2 separate regions of the Homo sapiens genome follow, and region 2 is linked to region 1. Evidence: promoter capture Hi-C in 16 types of primary human blood cells and fetal thymus (Javierre and others, 2016). All regions are on one chromosome and are shown on one strand. Each heading gives the region's core, a stretch centred on a gene start or on the middle of the fragment in contact. The rest is flanking DNA. Distances are from core to core; before and after follow the strand shown.

Region 1 (4,223 bases), core at 916-3,415:
GACTTCCTTGCGTCTTCCCTTCTCCCCAGCCTCATGATCCTCTCTGCATCCCAGGAGAGGGCATGTGAGTGCTCTAGAGCAGCTCTTCCAGACCTGGATGGAAGAACCTACCTAAGCTTCCCCACCTCACCTGGACCACGGGGACCCGTGCAGAGGAGGGAATCTTCCCACACCGGTGCATTTACCCCTTCTCCTCTTCCCTGACGGCCAGCCTCACCTTCCTTCCTCCCCCGAGACTCACTCCAACGTCTAGGGGCAAGCAGTGTCTACCTTGTATGCTCTTACCTGATGAGGAAACAGCCTGAGTCAAGAGAAGGGAGAAGCACAGGCTTTTCCTCACCCATGGCAATTGCAATAGTGCGTGTCTCACCTCGCTGCAAGCTTTCCAAGGACGCAATCAAACACGGGGGAGAAACAAATTCAGCCAAGAAAGTCAAGTAAGGGAACATCTTCTTCCCTCTAGCACCAGTTCCTTTTGTGTCTTTATTTGCCAAGTGAGAGGGAGGAGTGAGATGCCAGAGCATCTGGCTGGTTCTCAGCTATGTATAGTTTCAGACACCATTTATTTGCAATGAGCGCCCGCCGAGGGAAGGGAATTTCACGGCTCCCTCGCACCGCCGTTCCTTAAGGCTGATGAATCAGACACCTCTTTCGTTCTTACTGTGCATGCCCTCTACCTTTCAGATGACCTATTTGTTGGCCTTTTTCCATTTAGACAATAAACCCAAGTGCACCTTCTGCATCCCTTTGCTCTACGGGAACTGAGGGTGATGAAGGGGACATGCGCCTGGGAGTACCACGCCATGACAGAGCGGCATTGAGTCCTCGGGACAATCAATACACCAAGAGGTGGAAATTAACATCCACAAGAGTGTAGTCATGATTTTCCCCCAGAACAAATATATAAAAGGGATCTTTGTCATAACAATGACAGGAAATCATTAATCACATCAGGATTGAAGTCCCCACTGTAGCAGTGGATGGGAAGACTTCGTCTGTGATCTTCATTAAAAATGCAATATTTTGTATATTTAGCTTTTTTCAAAGTTTTACCAAAACACCTGTAATTAATACAATTTATTGTATTATCTTTGTTAATGTATCTGATGTGCAAAACCTTACTAGATTTGCCCCAATTTGAAGGTGTCTGTGGCTTTCCAGCACTCCATGTGTTCCTAGCTACATCTCACAGGCAGACTTTCTAAAGCAGTGCCTTTCAATAGCACTGTTGGCGACGATGGACAGGTTCTGTATCTGCATTGTCCATTGGGATAGCCACTAGCTGCATGTGGCTATTGAGCACTTGAAATGTACCTGGCATGACTGAGAAACTAGTTAACACTTAAAACATTTTTCTTTTTTGATACAGGGTCTCAGTCTGTTGCCCAGGGTGGAGTGCAGTGGTGCAATCTTGGCTCACTACAACCTCTGCCTCCTGATCCTTCCACCTCAGCTTCCCTGAGTATCTGGGACTACAGGCATGGGCCACCATGCCTGCCTAATTGTTTTTGTGTGTTTTGTAGAGATGAGGTTTCACCATGTTGTCCAGGCTGTTCTTGAACTCCTAGGCTCTGCCTAGTGATCTGCCCGCCTCAGTCTCTCAGAGTGCTGGGACTACAGAGGTGAGCCACTGCACTGGCCCTAGTTAGCATTTTAATTAATTTGAATTTAAATAGGCACATCTGCCTAGTAGCTACTGTGTTGGATAGCACAGCCCTCCGGGTTCTGGTACGTCTGTCAAGGCCAGAAAAGGTATGTTGCGATGGATAGTGCTACATCTGCCACTGGGTGGTAATCTGATACAGGCCTGCTCAGGTGACACCACCTAAAGAAATCTCATCAGTGTGCACCTCTGGCAAGCCTGACAAGGCTGACTTCTCTCGATGGGATCCTCCAATTTCCCCATTCCCTGTAAGCAGCTGTGCTGTCTAGGAAGAGAATTTGCTCTTAGATCATCAGTCTGTATGTGCGTCTTCAGATGAGACAGTTTCCCCTTATCCCAGCAGTTTTCAGCTTTTTGTTTCTGGTTGCAAATGATTGACTCCGCTGATTGCTGGAAGCTACACAGGTGACTCCCCACCCTCTTGGGCTACCCCACCAGTGACAACACAGGCAGGGGTGGCCTGGCTTCCTTTCTCGTGTTGTTATCGGGTAGCTGCCTGCTCAGAACCCACAAAGCCTGCCCCTCATCCCAGGCAGAGAGCAACCCAGCTCTTTCCCCAGACACTGAGAGCTGGTGGTGCCTGCTGTCCCAGGGAGAGTTGCATCGCCCTCCACAGTGAGTATTGCTCTTCTTCTTGTTGCCCCCAACCCAGTGTCATCTTGGCCCTCAGTTGTGTGCTGCTATGATGGCTTCTAAAACCTGGGCTTGCACTCATTTGTTCAGAGGTCATGGGCACCAGGCACTTTTCTAGAAACTTCCAGGAAGGTAAATGGGAATTGGTGATGCCCAACCCAGGTTTCTTGTAGGGCGAGTAATAAAACTCCCTCCCCCTTCACATACATGAAGCTTAGGCTTAAGGCAGTCTGTGATTTATACCTTAAAGGAAGGAGAAGCAGGTGCTGGGGGACAAGATGGTGGCCAGGGGTAAAGGACACACCCATGAGGTCCTTGAGTCTGAGACACTGCCCCATGGAAAGGATTCTTTGTAGCAGTGAAAAACTGGAAACAAGGAAACTATGCATCAGGAGGCGAATGGTTAAATGAATTGTGATGTATCTAGACAATGGAATACACAGCAGCCATCCAATTCTATGATACGGTTCTATGTTGAATTGGCATGGAAGGTGATCCATGAAAGATGGGCAATTAGAAAGCAAGATAGAAGATTATATGTGTAGTCTGATTTCCTTTCTATTAAGTGCGTGTGTGTCTGTGTGTGTGTGTGTGTGTGTGTGAGGTTGTGTTACAGAGAAAAAGTCAGAAAGGAAGTATCTCAGAAACTTAACAATGGCTAAACTAGGAAAGGGTGCTTCAGGAGTTTTTATTTTCTATATTATGTATGTTGGCATTTTGGGGATTTTTTGTGCATTGTAAAAATACTCCTTTATGATCAGAGTAAAGCAAAAAGTTATTTTAAATGACTCATCAGTGGATGCTGGTTTGCCTTTTCAAACACACCTACCCTCTTTAGTTCTGAATTAGCTGTTACTCCATAGACGGCTGGCAAGTCCATCCAGAGAGTGGTCACTGTGTGCTGAACCGGAAGGGCTGTGCAGCAGCCAGTCTGTGGGATCCCATCTCCTTACTCCCTTTCCTGAACGAGCAAAAGCTAATTTACTATTTCAGCATCTGGAATTTCGGAGTCCTTTTCTTCCAATATCTGCTTATCTGTTCTGAAGCCTCTTTGTGTAGGCCTCACTCACAGGCTTGTGTTGGGAGCCCCTGGGCCCTGTGCAGCCCCTGCTGGGCGGTTGGCAGGCATCTGATCCAGGCATGGTGAGTGGATGGATCTGATAGATGGCTCAGAGACCCTGCCTCGTGTAGGGAACAAAAAGCAGAGCTATGAAAAAATGTAAGAGATGATTCAAGCTCCGTGTAGCAAATTGTACAAAGTTCAAAGTAAGGACCTGCATTCCTGACTCATGTTAGTATCTGATTTGATGTTAGTGCTGTAAGCATCAGAGGCTATAAGTGTGGGGAGATGCTGTGTGCACAATAACCCCATGCTGATTTTCATGTTGGCTACGTAAGAATGTTAGAGAATACAAAAATAGTGATTGGATAATAATAGGTTCCAAGCTAACTTTTCTAATAGGCACTTTTCTCTTTTGGAGAATTAGCAGCTCTCTCCCTTCCTTTATCTCCCAGGTCCCTGCACATACCCCATGCTTTCTGACTTTCATGCCTTAGTGCATATGTTTTCCCACCCTGGAGCAATGTTCCCTCCCCTCGTTGCATGTCTCCATGCTCTTCGGCCTTCAAGGACCCGCAAAAATGTCACCTCTTCAATGAAGCCCTCCTGGATTCTCCCCAGAGCTAAAGACATGACCTCCTTCTTCCAATTCCTACCACAACTCATAGCACTTTCCCTTTGTTGTTATTTGCAGCCATGACTTACTCAGTGTATTTGAATGCAAGCTTCTTGAGGACATGGATCATGTCTTACACATTGTTTAAGCCAAATAAATGTATCAGGTACTCAAGGCACATTGAATAAGTGGGTTCGATGGATGGCCCATGGCACCTGCAACAAGGCCTCACTGAGCAGCAAGGGAGAGAT
Region 2 (4,223 bases), core at 1,128-3,627, 190 kb after region 1:
GACCTAAATCTTGGTGAAGAGTTCTTGGACATAACACCAAAAATATAATACATAAAAGAAAGAATAGATAAACTATTAAAATGAAAAACATTTGCCCTGCAAAAGGCCCTGTTAAGACCATCTCCAGAATGGGAGAAAATATTTTCCAACCACATATCAGACAAATAGCTCATGTCTAAAATATATATAGAATCCTCAAAATTCAACATTTAAAAAGAAAACAAAACAAACAAACAAAAAACAACCAATTCAGTTAAAAAATAGGAAATGACTTGAAGAGACATTTCATGGAAGAGGATTTTTCAAATGGCAAATGAGCACATGAAAATATATTCAATGTCACTAGCTACAAGGGAAAGGCAAATTAAGACCATGATAAGATATTATCACATATGTATCATAATAGTTAAAACAGTAAAAATAGTGGCAATACCAAATTCTGACAAGGATGTGGAAAAATCTAGATATCTCATACTTTGCTATCTAGTTTGGGGAATGTAACATGGCATAGCCACTCTGAAAAGAGTATAGCAGCCTCTTAAAAACCAAGCACGCACCATATGTGTTAGTCAGGGTTCTCCAGGAAAAAGAGCCAACAGGATAGATAGTGCTGGCCTGGGCCACCAAGATTTTTTAACAGTCACCTTCCAACCCTGCCCCAAGTGATTCCATGAGCAGCTAAGATTAAGAACCACTGCCCAGGGGAGACTTGGATTTTGTATGCAAAACAATTACTCCATGTGGTCCTACAATTTAGGCAAATTTGAAAGATACCCTTGTCTCTACCATCTGACATACCACCCACACTCAGCACTTGGCCAGCTCTGGGAACCCCTTGTATTCTTCTGGCTTTGAGAGAAATTGTTGAATGTAAGGTATGAGTCCTGCTGAAATCTGGGCCGTTCCTACTTCTTGGCTGAATATTTTGTCTGAGCTGGCCCCACATTGGCTCAAGTAAAGTCTTCAAAATTATTAATATATTTTGTGCCTCAGCTTCCTCAGCTGTAAAATGAGAAAGACACTCATCTTGCAGAGTTGAGTGCTTTAGATGTGATGTTGGTCAATGATTGCCATTTTGTAGAAGCTTAACAAATGGTAGCCATTATTTTGAAAAAAAAAAAAAAAATAGGATATCATTGAAATCAGCAGCAGCAAAGTTAAAAGACAGAATTGTGGCTCCTGTTTAGTTCACATATTTCCCTGGGAAGGAGGAAAGTTTCTATGCTGGGGCATAGAAAACAAGGGGCTATACCTCAATGGTCCCAAACTGACCTTATCAGGTTGGCCTTCTTGATAGTTTCACTTTCCAGATGCTAGAGAAATTTGCTGTGGGCCACTGCCCTCTATTGAAGTAATATTGTCACTTCTGAGGAAAGAATACTTGGACTTGCCATAGGAGAAGTCAAGGATTGCACTTGAATTTCATCTCACTGGGGTAAAGCTGACCCCTGTGTGAGCACTGAGAGAGAAAAGAAACTTTTTATGTGAGGAATACAAACCCCTTTAATATATCCAGCCCAGAAAGGCTTTGGAGTAAAAAGCTGTCACATCTCAGTCCCTGCTTGAGCTAAGTAGTTACCTCTTGAAGCCACTTGCTGTGGGCTCTGGACTAACTGATGCCACGTAGCTATAAAATGCCATATACCATAATCATGGATGCCACAACTCATATCCTCTAGCTCAGGGGTCCTCAACCTCTGGGACGCAGACCAGTTAGGAACTAGGCTGCACAGCAGGAGGTAAGCAGTGGGCAGGCAAGTGAGCAAAACTTTATCTGCTGCTACCCATTTCTAGTATTACCACCGGAGGTCCTCCTCCTGTCAGATCAGCAGCAGTATTAGATTCTCATAGAAGTGCAAACCCTATTGTGAACTGTGCATGCGAGGGACCTAGGTTGCATGCTCCTTACGAAAATCTAATTCCTAATGATCTGCCACTGTCTCCCATCACCTCCAGATGGGACCATCTAGTTGCAGGAAAACAAGCTCAGGGCTCTTACTGATTCTACATTATGGTGAGTCATGTATTTCATTATATATTACAATGTAACAATAATAGAAATAAAGTGCACAATAAATGTAATGCACTTGCTTCATCCCCAAACCATCTCCCCTACTCCTCCTAGGTCTGTGGAAAAATTGTCTTCCATGAAACTCGTCCCTGGTGCCAAAATTTTGGGGACCACTGCTGTAGCTCAACAACATAAAGCCAATCACTAATCAATGTTATTTCTGCAAACCAATGAGAATTCCTGTCAAATAGCTTTGTATCAGTCCACTCCTTGCTCACTTTTTGTCTTTAAAAACCTGCCTGAATGGATGCAGCTGGAGACAATTATTCTAAGTGAATTAACACAGGAACAGAATACCAAATACCGCACGTTCTCACTTATAAGTGAGAGCTAAACATTAGGCACACAGGGACATAAAGCTGGGAACAACACACATTGGGGACTATTAGAGTGGGGAGAGAAGGAAAGGGGCAAAGACTGAAAAACCACCTATTGGGTACCATGGTCGCTACCTGGCTGATGGCATCATTTGTACCCCAAACTTCAGCATCATGCAATATAGCCATGTAACAAACATGCACATGTAACCCCCTGAATCTAAAATAAAAGTTGAAATTATTTTTTAAAAAGCCTGCTCGCAACAAAGGCTGGATGCGGCACTCCCCAAAGCAACTTGGAAGTGTGTCCTGAGCAGCTGGCCTCATGTTGGCTCAAGTAAAGTCTTCAAAATTATGAATATATTTTGTGCCTCATCTTCTTCCTTTGGGGTCAGCATTTTTGGTGCCATGAGAAGGATTCAGAATAACCCCCTTGGCTCTACTATCTGACTTACCTCCCAGACTCAGCGCCTGGCCAGCTCTGGGAACCTCTTGTATTCTGACTTTGAGAGAAATTGTTGAATGTAAGGTATGAGTCCTGCTGAGATCTGGGCCTTTCCCATTTTTTGGTTGAAGGTCTAGATTTTGCCTGAGCTATGTTTTCCGATCCTCCCTTACTAGAATGGGAGTTTTCCATCTGTGCCTAATGGGCAGGAGATTTGGGTTCCAGAAAAGAAAAAGGGTAGGGGGAACAGCGTTTTTTCACCTCTGCCTTGGGGAAGGGAGGTCTGGGTCCAGGCATTGGCAATTTGACATTGGTGGTTTTGCTTTACATAGCACGCTTTTAAAATTGCAGCTGCTTCCTATTGTTTGAAATTCAGACTTGGATGTTTCATCTGTGACCAATTCCTATTAGTTCTAAACTGAAAAGTGCATGAGAGTGAGTTCTCTTGCTATGGAGAAAGGGCAGTTGCTCACTTTGACCAATTGGAGTGCTCTAGGTGACTGGAGACTTTGCAGAGTTTGCAGAGTCTCTGCAGACTTTGCAGAGGTGTCAAGGCTGTTGTCTAGGATATAAAGGACGCTCGTAGGGTATTCCTCACCACAAGAACGTTTTTTAGGGACTCGATCATCTGCATGGGCATAAAATACGGGACTGATCGCTCATACCTTTAGCACTCTGGTGCCACCTGGTGGTTAGAGGCATTCTGAGACAACGTAAGAGAGCAACTCATGACTTTTGGGTGACACCTAGAGGAGCAGTGCTCGTAAGCACCACACTTCCACCCAAACACATCCTGGGCCTTGGTCATTTTTAAGAAGTTCCTAAGTTACGGGAAATCAAGCTTGAAAATCTGAGCGCTCTTTTAAGGGACAACCATTGTTAGAAACACCATCTGGTTTTATGTACAACACTTATGAGACATCCTCTTGTAAATATCTAGGAAAACGGACCCATATAGCCCAGGATGATCATCAACAATGGCCAAAATGTGGGTCTTTTGAAATGCCCAAAATGATTCATTTGTGTGCACAATAGAGAAAAAAGCTGGTTTTAGAACATGAAATAGGATAATTACTTCCAATGGCACCTAGAGTTTTTTTAAGATAAATTCTGAGAAAATTGCCTCAATCCAAGAGGTAAACAAAAAGATCCTAAATCTATTTCTGAATTTAAAAAGACTTTGAAGCCCTCCTCCCTTCCACTTCCAGCTGTTTCTCCTCATCCTACCCCTGCACCTTTATATCCTCTCTTATCTCAAGTCCCCTGTCCTGCCCTTCCTTCCCTCCCACTACCACCTTAGGAAATTCCCTAGAACTTGAACCCCCTCCCTGAAACCCCATTTTGGCAGCCCCTTTTCAGGTAAAACCACAGCAAGAGGTGAGACCACTAT

The links. Contacts are between HindIII fragments. The CHiCAGO score rates a contact against its expected background, and 5 or more counts as called.
Region 2: a contact is called between a fragment that was not itself captured here and the fragment with the promoter of CCR9 in region 1, in 2 of 17 cell types (fetal thymus and total CD8 T cells). The highest score is 7.2, in fetal thymus.

What each region holds. Positions count from the first base shown.
Region 1 is chr3:45,884,378-45,888,600 of GRCh38, forward strand. CCR9 (C-C motif chemokine receptor 9) reads left to right here and starts at 2,166. Exons shown (of 3, transcript NM_031200.3): 1 at 2,166-2,278. It also overlaps a transcript of LZTFL1 not described here. RefSeq lists a promoter at 1,182-2,181. The HindIII fragment of the contact is 2,128 bases long and covers 380-2,507 here.
Region 2 is chr3:46,075,468-46,079,690 of GRCh38, forward strand. It overlaps a transcript of XCR1 not described here. Among named protein-coding and RNA genes, the nearest start is that of XCR1, 50 kb to the left of the region's middle. The HindIII fragment of the contact is 2,590 bases long and covers 1,083-3,672 here.